Regions from separate parts of the Homo sapiens genome. Here region 1 is linked to region 2. The links are contacts of gene promoters, found by promoter capture Hi-C in blood cells and fetal thymus (Javierre and others, 2016). All regions are on one chromosome and are shown on one strand. Each heading gives the region's core, a stretch centred on a gene start or on the middle of the fragment in contact. The rest is flanking DNA. Distances are from core to core; before and after follow the strand shown. Region 1 overlaps LOC124904882 (a long non-coding RNA gene). Region 2 holds the start of GINS1 (GINS complex subunit 1).

Evidence for each region. The method cuts DNA at HindIII sites, captures the fragments that hold promoters and counts their contacts. A CHiCAGO score of 5 or more calls a contact.
Region 1: a fragment that was not itself captured here is called in contact with the fragment with the promoter of GINS1 in region 2 in 4 of 17 cell types (total B cells, erythroblasts, M1 macrophages and 1 more); the score reaches 8.0 in total B cells.

The regions. Positions count from the first base shown.
Region 1 is chr20:25,058,894-25,065,400 of GRCh38, reverse strand. It overlaps LOC124904882 (a long non-coding RNA gene), which reads left to right. Exons shown (of 2, transcript XR_007067555.1): 2 at 2,031-2,439. Among named protein-coding and RNA genes, the nearest start is that of ACSS1, 4.0 kb to the right of the region's middle. The HindIII fragment of the contact is 264 bases long and covers 2,038-2,301 here.
Region 2 is chr20:25,405,876-25,412,366 of GRCh38, reverse strand. GINS1 (GINS complex subunit 1) reads right to left here and starts at 4,694. Exons shown (of 7, transcript NM_021067.5): 1 at 4,472-4,694. The coding sequence starts at 4,546. LOC105372581 (a long non-coding RNA gene) reads left to right here and starts at 4,072. Exons shown (of 3, transcript XR_937403.3): 1 at 4,072-4,296. RefSeq lists enhancers at 3,548-4,305, 4,403-4,652. The HindIII fragment of the contact is 9,972 bases long and covers 4,082-6,491 here.

The DNA.
Region 1 (6,507 bases), core at 920-3,419, 340 kb after region 2:
CACCTGGCTCCAAGACCACTCAGGGGACAGGGTGGGCTACCAGCAGGCATCAGGACCCCTGGCCCTCCATGTGTGTGGGGACTGGTTCAGGCTTCTGCTGGACGATGAAACTACAGGACAAAGCCATGAGGGCAGGTGGCCCCTGGTCTTTCAGGCACAGTGGAAACCCTGCTGCTGCCGGTGCCTCTGCCTGGGTGTGGGAGTCTGTTTCTCTGAGCACAGTGTTGAACTTGGGACTATCCCTTTTGTCCTCTGGACTATAAGCCTCCTCCTCTAAGGTCCACATTCTAGTTGTCACTCAAATTCAAACTAAAGCAAACGCCGAGTTCTAGCTGAGGATCCATTTCCTAGCTTCACCTCTCAATTTTTAGTTTTATGCAAGTCAAAATCTAAACCTTCCCAGCCAGAGCTGGCTGCCATTCTCAGAAGCTACTGGACTGGAAATCTACCAAAATGTCAATGCCTGCTTGCACTTAAGTCCAAGATAAAGTTAATTCTAGTTGAACTAACATGAAAAGAAAACCACAAAGGGTGTTCCTGTCTATATCCCTCAGACATGGGCTTGGGTGGCTATGTCTCTGCTCCAGCCCTAAAGTAGTGTGAGAAACAGCGGTTGTCCCTGGCCCAGAGTGACGGCTGATGGGGATGGGGCAGTTGTGAGACAAAGAAGACATTGAACGGAAGGAAGGAGGGCAGGAGTTCTCCAGAGCCAGAGTCCGGTGGTCCTTAGGGAAATCTGTGGAGGGCCCCACACTGGCAGAGGCTGTGATTTTGGGAAAGGAGTAGAAACTCTGGCTATTAAGTCTGGCATGTTCTTAATGGGACTCATACACCTCTTGGAATTTTAGAGCTCAAGGATTCAGAATTTGGATCTCATTGGTTCATTTTGCAGATGAGAAAACTGAGGCCTAGAGATGTCAGGGGCCTTGCCACATGGCAGGTTGGAGGCAGAACAGAGGGCAGAAGCCAGGAGGGGTTCTAGGCCTCTCCCTTGGCTCCCTGTCTAGTGCTATCTGTACACTCAGGAGCTCCATGAAGGAGGAAGCCATTTTTGATCCACACAGGAGGCAGGACAGTGGCCACAGCTCAAAGTTCTCAGAGCTTTGCCCTTGGAGTGACCCCAAGATGTCCCTGTGATCTCAGAGACTTACAGCTCTCAAATAGCACTAAAAGTGACGCCTGGCCTTGAGCGAGAGAAGGCAGTGCAGCTACCACAGTAGGGGAACCCCAGGAGAGGCAGCTTGGGAATGGGGAAGGGCATTGGCATGTGGGGGCAATTGCTGTGCCCCCCTTGGCCCTGCAGGCCTGGCAGTTAGGGACTGTTCTCCCAGGTGTAATGATTTTCATGGTGTCTTCCTTGAACACTGAGGGCTGCAAGGGGTCTTGTGGGGAAGTCTGTTCTATGGGTGGTTGATGGATGATGTCCCCAGCCGTGCATGCTCATGGATGGCTGGGGTGAGTGATTAAGAGTTACCAGGATTTGGTGCTGCTGGAATTGAGTTACCATGTCGCTCATGCTGACCAGGAGCTGCCCCACCACAGAGCCCAACTGTTCTGCCTCCTGCACCGCCCTCAGAGCATCAGAGAGCATAGCTGCCTGGCCGGGTATCCCGCAGCCCCAGGAAGGACGCCAGGCAGTTGCTGGATTGCACTCCCACTTCCCAGCTCTTCTTGCGCTTGTGGCCACCCTCTCTCGTCCTGTGCTTCGCTGTGTGTTGTTGGGTTGACCCCGCAGGGTCAGGGGCGCACTGCACTTCTGCAGGGCTTTGTGCACAGTGCCACAGTGCATGAGGCTATGGTGTGTTGCAGCCATATGGGATCCTCAAGCCCCCTGCTGAAGCAGATGTATGCGCAGACTCCACATACCTCATCCTCACCCGGAGTTCATGGGGACATCGAGAAATAGGAGCCAGAAGGGAAGGGAGCCCTGTCACCTTGTGAAGCTGCCACCATGGCAGCCCTAGAGATATAGCTGAGAAAGCTCCTCATTTTTTCTTACTCAATTTTTTTTCTCATCTCTTTATCTATAGGTAAGCTTGCTTAAAAGAACTTTGGGTGGCCTGGTAACTTCAGGACGCTTCGCCAATTACCAGAGGAAGTAAGGCTTGCCCAAAACCGAGCAAACCAGAACCAGTGGCCCCTGTCACCTTTAGATCATTAGCATATCATTATAATGCTAAAGTCCCCACTCATAGAAGAGAATCATAGAAGAGAATCGTTGCCACTTTCTGCACACGTGTCGTATGAAGAGCCTGTTCATGATCTGCACCTGCGTGTCTGAAGTTCCTCCCCACATAAGCTTACATAGCTCCTGCCCCACATCTAACCCTGTTACATTCCCCAGCTCCCCACCGCTCTGGAAGAAGCTGTCTTTAGAGCAAGTGCTCTCTCCTTCTCCATGCCTGGCCGGGAATAAAACCTGCTTTTCCTTTTCCCCAATCTGGTGATCTTTCTTTGTAGCTGATGCAGAGTAGAGAAAGAACTCAGTGAACTGGTGACGAAGCCAATTCCAGACTCCCAGCATCTGGGTCCTGTACTTGATCTGAGCTCTGCCATGCTCTTCTAAATTCTGTGTTTTGGTTTTACTGTGCATTTCAGCTATTTGAACAGTGTCTGTCTCTCCCCAATTTGAACTGTGACCTGCTTGCTTGCAGGGACCAAAACTGGACCGTCCTTGTCCAACTGAGAGCCCTCAGCTCTTGGTGGTGCACATGGGAGAAGCTCACAGGTTTCTTCTGAGTGTCATTGGAAAGAGGTGTGTGTGTGTGGGGTCACAGAGACAAATGAAGAGAACAGGAAGAGGGAGAGATGGAGGAGAGAAGAGGAAGGGAGGGTTTTACCAGCTCTTTGGAGACCACTGAGTGCACAGGGAGTGGTTGGGGATCCGTTATCAGCCAGGACTGTTTCTTGAGCATCTGAGCACTGCGACTCTGGAGTAATGGGCATGGCAGGAGCTATGAAGGCAAATGGCGAAGGCCGTGTTGGTGGGCTCTGTCCCTAAAGCTGTTAAATTAAGATGCTCTGGACGCTATGGCTCTGCTACCTACTAGCTGGTGGCCTCGGGTGAGCTTCTGTCCTCCTGCTTATTTTCACACATGTACAGCAAGGGCAAGAGCATTCACTGCTGCAGGTTGTAGGGTCAGTAGTCACAGCTGTGTTGGCATTTCTGGCCTAAACATTAGTACCGAGACAGAAGCGAATCCCGGATTCCCAAGAACCCTGCCCTCTAAGCACTTCGTGTGTCTGCAGCCCCTGCCTGACAGCATCCAGCGTTCCAAGTGAGCTCTCCTGAAGTTGAGGCCAGCGGCTTCTTAGGGAGAAGATGTGACCAGCACTGCCCAGATAGCCTGCTGCCCTGTCCAAACCTCTGAGGGTCCTTCGGGATGCAGGGCCAAGAGTGGGTGCTCCTTGTGCTTGTTCAATCTTGTGCTTGTTCTGCAAGAGTTGATGACTGGCTGCCAGGAGGGAGGCAGTGGGGACGACCTTGGCCTGGGCTGTGACACTCAGAAGGAAGGTCTCAAGGCCACCTCTAGGTAACTCGGGCAGCAAGAAGTGCAGTTCTGCACCACCTGGTTGGTTCTGACATGTTTGGTTCTGAAATGATCACTTCTTCTTATCCAACCAGAAGGAACGAGGTAGCATTTATTTTAAAACAGAGTTAGTTCTACCTACTTTTCTCATTGCAACTGTAGAAGACCTTAGAAACGAAGGTAGTAGGAAGAAGGAGCCATTGCCGTGCACTCTCCATGGGGTGGCTGTTGGTGCCAGGCCCAGTCACAAGCAGCATAGCTGGTCTCTTCTCTCACAGGGCTCCCTCCTGGTAGGAGGACTAGGAAGATAAACACAGAGCTAATAAGTAACAGCCATGGAGAAAAGTCAAGTCAGGGGTTGAGACTAGGGAATGAGGGCGGAGGTATAACTTTATGTAGGTGACAGGGAAGAAAGGGCTCTTGGATGAAGGGATGTTTGAAGACACCTGAAGGAGGTGAGGGGGAGTCTCTGTGGACAACTGGGTGGAGCATTCCAGGCAGAAGGGACATCGTGTGGCAGTCCTGAGGTGGGAGCCTGCTGGGTGATGGGAAGGACAGGAGGAGGCTGATGTGCTGGAGCCCCAATGAGTGAGAGCAGAGGAAGAGGGTACACTGGATCAGGGAGGGCAACGCTTCTCTAACGTGAATGTGCATGCAGCTCCCCTGGGGCTTAAGATGCAGATTCTGAGGCAGCAGGTCTGAGATGGAGCCTGGCATTCTGCATTTCTACAAAGTATCCAAGTGATGCTGCTGGCCCATGGACCACACGTTAAGTAGTGAGGCTATGGCCTGTGGGCCAGGGAATGATGTGGTCTTTGTTTTGAGGAGACTGGGGAGCCTTTGGATTGTTCCAAGCTCCAGAGCAAGTTCCTCTGACTCTTGTTTTAAAGGAATTGCACTGGCTGCTGGTTAGGCTGTCAGGGGCAAGGGTGAAAGCAATTTGAAGCCTACTGAATAATCCTAAAAGAGATAGGTATGGTTAGGATGGTAGCAGGAGGGGATGGTGATGGGGGAAGAGGTTAGTGCTGCAGGTGTTCTGAAGGTGAGTCACAGGATTTGCTGACAGGCTGCATGTGGAGTGTGAGGGGGAGGAATCTAGGATGACAAGGGTATGAGCCCAAACAACAGGAAAATGCCATTTCCATTCACTGACATGGAAGATCCGTGTTGTGGGGAAGAATCCCAGGACTTGGTATGTTTCAGATGTGAATGAGACATTTGAATACAGGACTGAGATGTGGAGGAAAGGTCCAGGCGGGAGGTGTCAATATGAAAGTGAGAGGCTAGAGAGCTGGCTGCTGTTTCCTAGGGGGCAGGGGAGAAAGGGGGATTTGAGGGCTGAGCTCCTGGGCACTTCAACACTTGGAAGGCAGAGAGAAGAAAGGCACCCAGTACAGGGCACTGAGAGGCAATAGTCAGTGAGTGAAAGAACCATGCATTTTTCAGCCTCAGTTGTTGTATCAGTTACCACTGCTGAGTTACAAACCATCCCAAAATTTAGTGGCTTAAATTTATTCCTTCTACAATTCTGTAAGTGGACTGGGAGGTTCCTTTGCATCCCAGGTGTTATCTGGGGTGACTCATGAGGCTGCCTTGGCTGGGACAGGAGCCTCCACATTGGCGTCATTCTTGTCTGGGAGTTGGTCCTGGCTGTGGATGGGACAGCTTCATCCTCGCCCTGGGTCCCTTCCTCTGGAAGGCCAGCCCCGCTTCCTCACAGCTCGCAGCTGGGTTCCATGGGAGGATAAGCTGGGGCTACGGGGTCTCTCAGGACCTCCACATGGAACTGTCACAGCATCCCTCCCACCAGGCTGTACTGGCCAAAGCAATCCAGCCAGCCAGGGTCCTCCTCTGGACAGAGCAGCACACCATCATGTGCAGGCGGTGCAGGCGTGGGAAGGAAGAGTTGGTGGCCGTCTTTGGGACCCCCTGCCACAGTTAGGAGCTTTCTCAGTTTACAATTTTACTACTCACTGACCTCTGCCTCTCAGTGCCCTGTACTGGGTGTCTTTAATATTCTATTCAAATGAACTTAGGCCAACGAGCTCCCCACTGGGGGCACTGGGTGTTAGTCTTGCTCTTCCCTTAGCCAGCTGCATGCTCTTTAGTAAGTCCTTTTATTTATTTGGGCTCAGTTTCCTCATTTTTTCCACCTGGAGTTTGACAGTTGGTGGGAATGGACAGCACTAGATAAGTTTCAAATTAAGTAGACTAGTCGGGTGCCGTGGCACACGCTTGTAGTTCCAGATACTCAGGAGGCCGAGTCAGGAGGATCGCTTGAGCTCAGGAGTTCCAGGCTGTAGTGAGCTGTGATGGGAACCATTGCACTCCAGCCTGGGCTACAGGCCCTATCTCTAAAAAAGTATCATAAATAAATAAAGGAGAAAATGCAGGTCAAGCGCTAGCACTGTGCAGGGCATGTGTTATGCTAGTAGATGTCACTGATTCTCCAGCTCTAGGTACACTCCTGTCTTCTCTGGCAGACAGCAGCATTCCCCAGCAGGGGCTGGTGGCTAGCCCACGCAGAGGCTCCTCCAATGGCAGGCTCCTCCCCTCTGCAAGCCCTACAGCTCAAGGGAAAGAAACTTTCCCATCACAGAGAACTCAATAAACCAGTTTTCCAAAATCTCTCTTCCCTGTGTTTACCCGTTTGTTATGAATTTACTTCTTGGGTGTCAGAATATTTAAGAACTCGGTGGAGACCAGTTTTATACGTTTCCTTCTGTCCTTCCTGGCTCCACAGCTGCAAAAACATCATCCCCACTACTGAGCTTACTATGGGGCCACGCAAGGGTAGACGCTTGACAGACATTGTCCAATGTATTCCTTACTGCAGCTGCCCACCCCCGCCGTCCCCGCCCCCCAGGGAGACATTACTTCCGTCTTCCCCAAAAGGAAAACGAGGCACCGAGAAGTTAAGGAACTTGCTCAAGGTCACAGAGTTTGAACTCAGGCTACAGATGCTGCAGCAACTGGA
Region 2 (6,491 bases), core at 3,445-5,944:
GGCCAGGCTGGTCTTGAACTCCTGACCTCGGGTGATCCACCCGCCTCAGCCTCCCAAAGTGCTGGGATTACAGGGATGAGCCACTGGGCCCAGCTTAAAAGTGATCTTAAAAGGTTAATACCAAAAGAAAGAAAAAGGAATAGTGTTTTTGGTTTGCACTGCAAAAACCGGCCATAGGAGTTTTTCTAGTATCCAGTTTCGGGCAAATTTTCCCTTGGAAAAATAAAACATTAGAATTCTGATTTTTTTCGTTGTTGTTGAGATGAAGTCTCACTCTGTGGCCCAGGTTGGAGTGCAGTAGTGCGATCTCAGCTCACTGCAACCTCTGCCTCCCAGGTTTAAGTGATTCTCTTGCCTCAGCCTCTCGAGTAGCTGGGACTACAGGTGTGCACCAGCAATGCCCAGCTAATTTTTTTTTTTTTTGAGACGGAGTTTTGTTCTTGTCACCCAGGCTGGAGTACAATGGTGCAATCTTGGCTCACTGCAACCTCCGTCTCCCGGGTCCAAGCAATGATTCTCCTGCCTTAGCCTCTCAAGTAGCTGGGATTACAGGTGCCCATCACGTCCAGCTAATTTTTGTATTTTTAGTAGAGACAGGGTTTCACCATGTTCACCAGGTTGGTCTCGAACTCCTGACCTCAGGCAATCCACCCACCTCAGCCTCCCAAAGTGCTAGGATTACAGGTGTAAGCCACCAAGTCTGGCTAATTTTTGTAATCTTTTTTTTTTTGGTAGAGACAGGGTTTCGCCATGTTGGCCACACTGCTCTCAAACTCCTGACCTCAAGTGATCCGCCTGCCATGGTCTCCCAAAGTGCTGCGAGTACAGGCAGGAGCCACCGTGTCCAGCCCAAAATGATTAAATGTTACCCAATAGGTCTGCCAACAATCGAAAGAGAAGCAATCCCATCTCTTTTTCACTGTCTATTTTTAGGGCCAAAATATATGTGTTGGCAAAAATGCTGTGGCATATACAAATGGCACAATTCCAAAATCAACTACTCAACTCTGCTCAAAAGATGTAATTCCTGATGGAAAATGCAAGCATGACTTCTACCTGAGCCCAAGGTAATTTTCTTACCTTTTCCTTTTTGAGACAGGGATTCAGTCTGTCACCCAGGCTGGAGTGTAATAGCGTGACCACAGTTCACTGCAGTTTCAACTTCCTGGAGCCATGCAATCCTCTCACTTCAGCCTCCTAAGTTGCTGGGACTACAGGTGTGTGCCACCACACCCAGCTAATTCTATTTTTTGTAAAAATGGGGTCTCACTATGTTGCCCAGGCTAGTCTCGAACTCCTGGGCTCAAGTGTTCCTTCCACCTTGACCTCCCAAAGTGGTGGCTGGGATTACAGGCATGAGCCACCATGCTTGGCCTAACTTTCTTAAAAATGTACTTTTTAAAAAAAGTATCAATTCTGCATATAGAAAGGGTGTAATCACTTTTCTGTTTGCTGAACACAGCGCTTAACCATGAGTGATTCCAGAAGAAAAGCCTGTGTGTTGGGCCGGGCACGGTGGCTCACGCCTATAATCCCAGCACTTTGGGAGGCTGAGGTGGGTGGATCGCCTGAGGTCAGGAGTTCGAGACCAGCCCGGCCAAAATAGTGAAACCCCATCTCTACTAAAAATACATAAAATTATCTGGGCATGGTGGCAGGCGCCTGTAATCCCAGCTACTAGGGAAGCTGAGGCAGGAGAATTGCTTAACCCAGAAGGCGGAGGTTGCAGTGAGCCGAGATCACACCATTGCACTCCAGCCTGGGCCACAGGAGCGAAACTCCCATCTCAAAACAATAAAAAAAAGAGAAAAGCCTGTGTGGTCCTTGGGCCTCTCAGATCCACTGTCAGCCTTCCTCTGTGCCGCTGAGTCGGAGGCCAGCCTCTGCAGGCTGACTAAGTGTTCCAGGCTGCTGGATCACCTTGAGTATCAGGTGGGTTTGTCAGTGGAAGGCACTAGTGAGACAAAAGGTGCTCCACCAAATTAAGACCTACAAGACAGTGATTCTACAACTTTTTTTTTTTTTTGAGGCGGAGTCTCTCTCTGTCGCCCAGGCTGTAGTGCAGTGACCCGATCTTGGCTCACTGCAACCTCCGCCTCCCAGATTCAAGCCATTCTCCTGCCTCAGCCTTCCGAGTAGCTGGGACTACAGGCACATCCCACCACGCCTGGCTAATTTTTTGTATTTTTAGTAGATACGGGGTTTCACCATGTTAGCCAGGATGGTCTCAATCTCAGGACCCTGTAATCCGCCCGCCTCAGCCTCCCAAAGTGGGGGGATTACAGGCGTGAGCCACCACTCCTGGCCTGATTCTACAACTTCTAAGACCAGCCCCTAGCCCCACAAAGTGATAACCCAACACTTAACTTAAAATTTGAGTAAAACAGAGAGCTAAACTAAGTGTCAGAGTCAGGTCCAAAATCCAGCTTGGCCGCACCTGTTTGCACAGTCTCTCTGTTCTCTAGGCCTGTGTCCTGATATGTACAATGACCTCTAAAGTTCCTAGTTCTCAGGCCACATTTTAGCATTTACACACTTCTGCATTCAAGCATCTCTACTGAGCTGCAGACTGCTGCCTAACTTTTTAAATGAGGTAACTGCTCTGAAGTTGAAAAAACAATTGACTAGAAACTGGAAAACCTGTGTTCAAGTTGAAGCTCTACCTCCAATATGCTGTAAATTCAGACGAGTTCCTTAACTTGACCCATAATTTGTGTCAGCTCAGTTTCTTCATTTGTAAGACAATCTAATTGTCTGGCTAGGTGCTCTTTAGTGTTCAAAACAAAACTCATTACCTTTCCCAACACACTCTATCTCCTGAACTCTGATGTTGTTTACCCAGTTTCCTAAGGATCCTCCAAGATCCCAATTCCTCCCTCTTATTCATTATGGACCCCATCTCTGCCCCTGCTCTAATAGCTACAAGTCATGTTTGCTTCATGTCTCTAAAACCCAAACACTGATCTCAGTGCCACTGACCTGACACAGTTCAGACCACACACCTCTCACCTGCTCTATCAGCCACCCAGTAGCCATCTCCCTGTCCCATTCTTTCCTCTCTTCAATCCATTCCCCATATTGCTGCCGCAGTTACCTTCAAAACACAAAAATTACCCTATCACTTCCTTGTCTAAAATCCTCTACCAGCTCCCAGCATGCCTTATAAGTGAACAACAAATTCATGTAGGCTGTGAGCCACCTTCCTAGACTCCCCACAGGCCCTATTGGTCACCCTCTCCAGTGTGACCACGTGACTTTGTGCTGCAGCATCCTTTGGCTGGGATGCCTCGCTTCCTTCTCAGATCAGTAACCTCATCCTTGAGGATGGAAAGGCTCATATATCACCTCTTCTACCCCAGCTCATACTGGTGTTTCTCCTTCGTGCTCCTTGCTATACCTCCTTAGTATCACTTAGCGTGGTGAATTCTATTATCTGTTTTTGTGCCCATCTTCCAGCAGAATGTGTCCTGACATCCACATAATGCCTGCTCTATGACGTAAGTGAAATATACAATTTAGAGTGCAGGCTCTGGAGCCAGAGTGCCAGGGTTCAAATCCTAGCTTTCTTGCTGTGTCACCTTAGGCAATATACTTAAATCTCCCCAATCCTATGCATATATAGCTGAAAAAAGTAGAAAACAATAGTTTAAACATCAAAAAGTTATTTTTGTTTTGTTTGGGACAGGGTCTCCCTGTCACTCAGGCTGGAATGCAGTGGCAGGATCAAGCGATCCTCCCGCCTCAGCCTCCCAAAGTGCTGGGATTACAGGCAGGAGCCATGGTACCGGGCCCTCAAAGGGTTATTAGAAAGACAAAAGATAATGTACATGAAGTGCTTAGCACTCTCCCTGGGGTAGCAGTGATAGAAAAATACAAATAATCATAATATTAATAGTAACAGCAGCAGCAGGAGAAAAGTAATATTAATAGCTAACACTGACTCAGCCCTTACTGTATGTGAGGCATATGCAGAGACCCTTACACATGCCACTCATTTTGCGTCCACTACATCATGCGTTGGGTACTATTATTGTCACCATCCCCATTTTTGCGTATGAGAAAACTGAGAGCACAGAAAGCTTGAGTAACTGCCCCAAAGTCACACTACAGAACCAGAATCTCAGCCAGGTTCCAGAGGCCTAGCTTTTACTGACCACGATTAGATGCCTGAGTGAGCAAGAAATGCTAAATTATCAGGCAACCTGTAAATATTTTAAGGGACCGGAACAAATCTGTCCAAGGAAAACTGCTAAAATGCAAAATTTGCTCAGATGAGGAAATTCACCAAATCGCTGGGTAGCGTAAGCATGAATGCTTTCTCTTTCCTCCTGAATTTTGTTTTGCTGCTTCCCAAGTTTTCCGGAGCTCGGAGGGAACAAGGTGCGAAAGTGAACCCTGACGGGGAGCCGCCCCGCCCCAGAGCCCAGGGCCCAACGCCGGCATGCCCCGTCCAAGTCTACCCGCCCCTCACGTTGAAGGCAGGCAGTTGCCCTTCGGGCGCGCGATGCAGCTCGCGGATCAGTTCCATGGCTTTTTCGCAGAACATGGCGGACGCTTCCCACTCCCGCGGCCTTGCCAACCACCAGCTCTCACGCCAAAATGGTATCTGGGCTCTCGGCGCCTCACTCCTTTCGTTCTAGTCCTACAGCGCCAGGCTCTCGCCTCGGCCTCCGCTCCGCGCTTTGGCGCCGAACAAAGCTAGCCAATAGGAACGCGCCTACGGCGCCCGAAAAGGGACATCCACCGCTCAGCCGCATTCCAAGAGGGGCGGAGTGGGAGGGGTCTTTCCAAGGTGAGGTCCCCGCCCCGGAGATGGCAGAACCCCTCGGCTGAGCAGAGACGGCTTTTCCAGTTCTCAGGCAGTGGGCCGGGGGACTCTACGGGCAGCAGAGCTGGAAATAAATGCACGCCCCGCAGCTTCCTTGTCATTTTCCTTTTGATTCATTCATTCTCGTTTAGGTTCAAGAAAAGAGCACTTTGAGGTTAAGAGGAAAGGCCCAAAAACTTGGTGTGCATTGGTAGGACGCAAGGGTTTCAGTTTTGCAGTGCGGGTTTTCTGTTTGATATTAAAATGAAACTCTCTTTTATTGGGTACCTAGTGCTGGTAGGGACTGCAGTGTGTATTTCATTCCCACAATTATCTCTGAAGTGTTTTAAGACCCGGGATTAATAAGGAAACAGAAGTTAGGTAACTTGCCCAAGGTCACACAGCTCCAGAGTGATTAGACTGTTATTTAGGCTTTCCATTTCCAACACCACAGTACCACCCTTTGATTTTAAAATAGTCTTTTAAAAATATTTGTAATATCTGCCCTAGATTAATACGAATTCACTAGGAATTTTCTTGGCTAGATGGTTATGGAATATTTCTTAAGCATATGGAAGATGGGAATCACTGCTAAAGAATTGTTTTATTAGGCAATTTTTCAAAAAGCAATGTTAATTTCTAACAAGCAATCTTGGATTTTTTTTTTTTTGAGATGGAGTCTCGCTCTGTCGCCCAGGCTGGAGTGCAGTGGCGCGAACTCGGCTCACTGTAAGCTCCGCCTCCCGGGTTCACGCCATTCTCCTGCCTCAGCCTCCCGAGTAGCTGGGACTACAGGCGCCCGCCACCACGCCCAGCTAATTTTTTGAATTTTTTAAGTATAGACGGGGTTTCACCGTGTTAGCCAGGACGGTCTCAATTTCCTGACCTCGTGATCCGCCCACCTCGGCCTCCCAAAGTGCTGGGATTACAGGCATGAGCCACCGCAACCGGCGCAATCTTGGATTAATTCTAGCTAACCCTAGAAACTATGTTGATCTTTTGCAAATATACAGTAGATATGTCATCTAAGGAATGGGCATGGGAATGGCCTACTCAGGCTTATGTTGAATAATGACATTGCCTTTTTTTTTTGGAGACAGGGTCTTAACTCCCGTTACCCAGGTGGAGTGCAGTGGCGCCATCTCAGCTCACTGCAGCCTCCACTTCCCGGGCTGAGGTAATTTTCCCCCCTCAGCCCTCTGAGTAGCTGGGACTACAGGCTCAGGCCACCACACCTGGCTATTTTGTATTTTAAGTAGAGACAGGGTTTCACCATGTTGGCCAGTCTGGTCGACAACTCTTGAGCTCAAGGGATCCGTCCGCCTGGGCCTCCCAAAGTGCTGGAATTACAGCGTGAGCCACCGCACCCAGCAAACATTGCCTTTTTGAAACCGCCTTTGAAAAAATTATAATAGAGAAAATTATTACAGTGAAAGAGATCTGACCTAACTGGCTCCATCTTGCTTCTAACCGCCAAGCCATCCTTGTTCATTCCTGGGCTTAGGGCGAATTAACTTGGGGAGAAACTTAGTTTATAGTTTAATTTTGAAACAAATACTTAGCCCTTTACCAAAGCGAAACCCTTTTTGTCTGGGGACTAGATTGCCTTTGCAGGAGTAACAGAGTAGCCACAAGACTAGAAATTTACGAGTCTCGCAGCGGGAGGCTACAAGATTCTAAAACC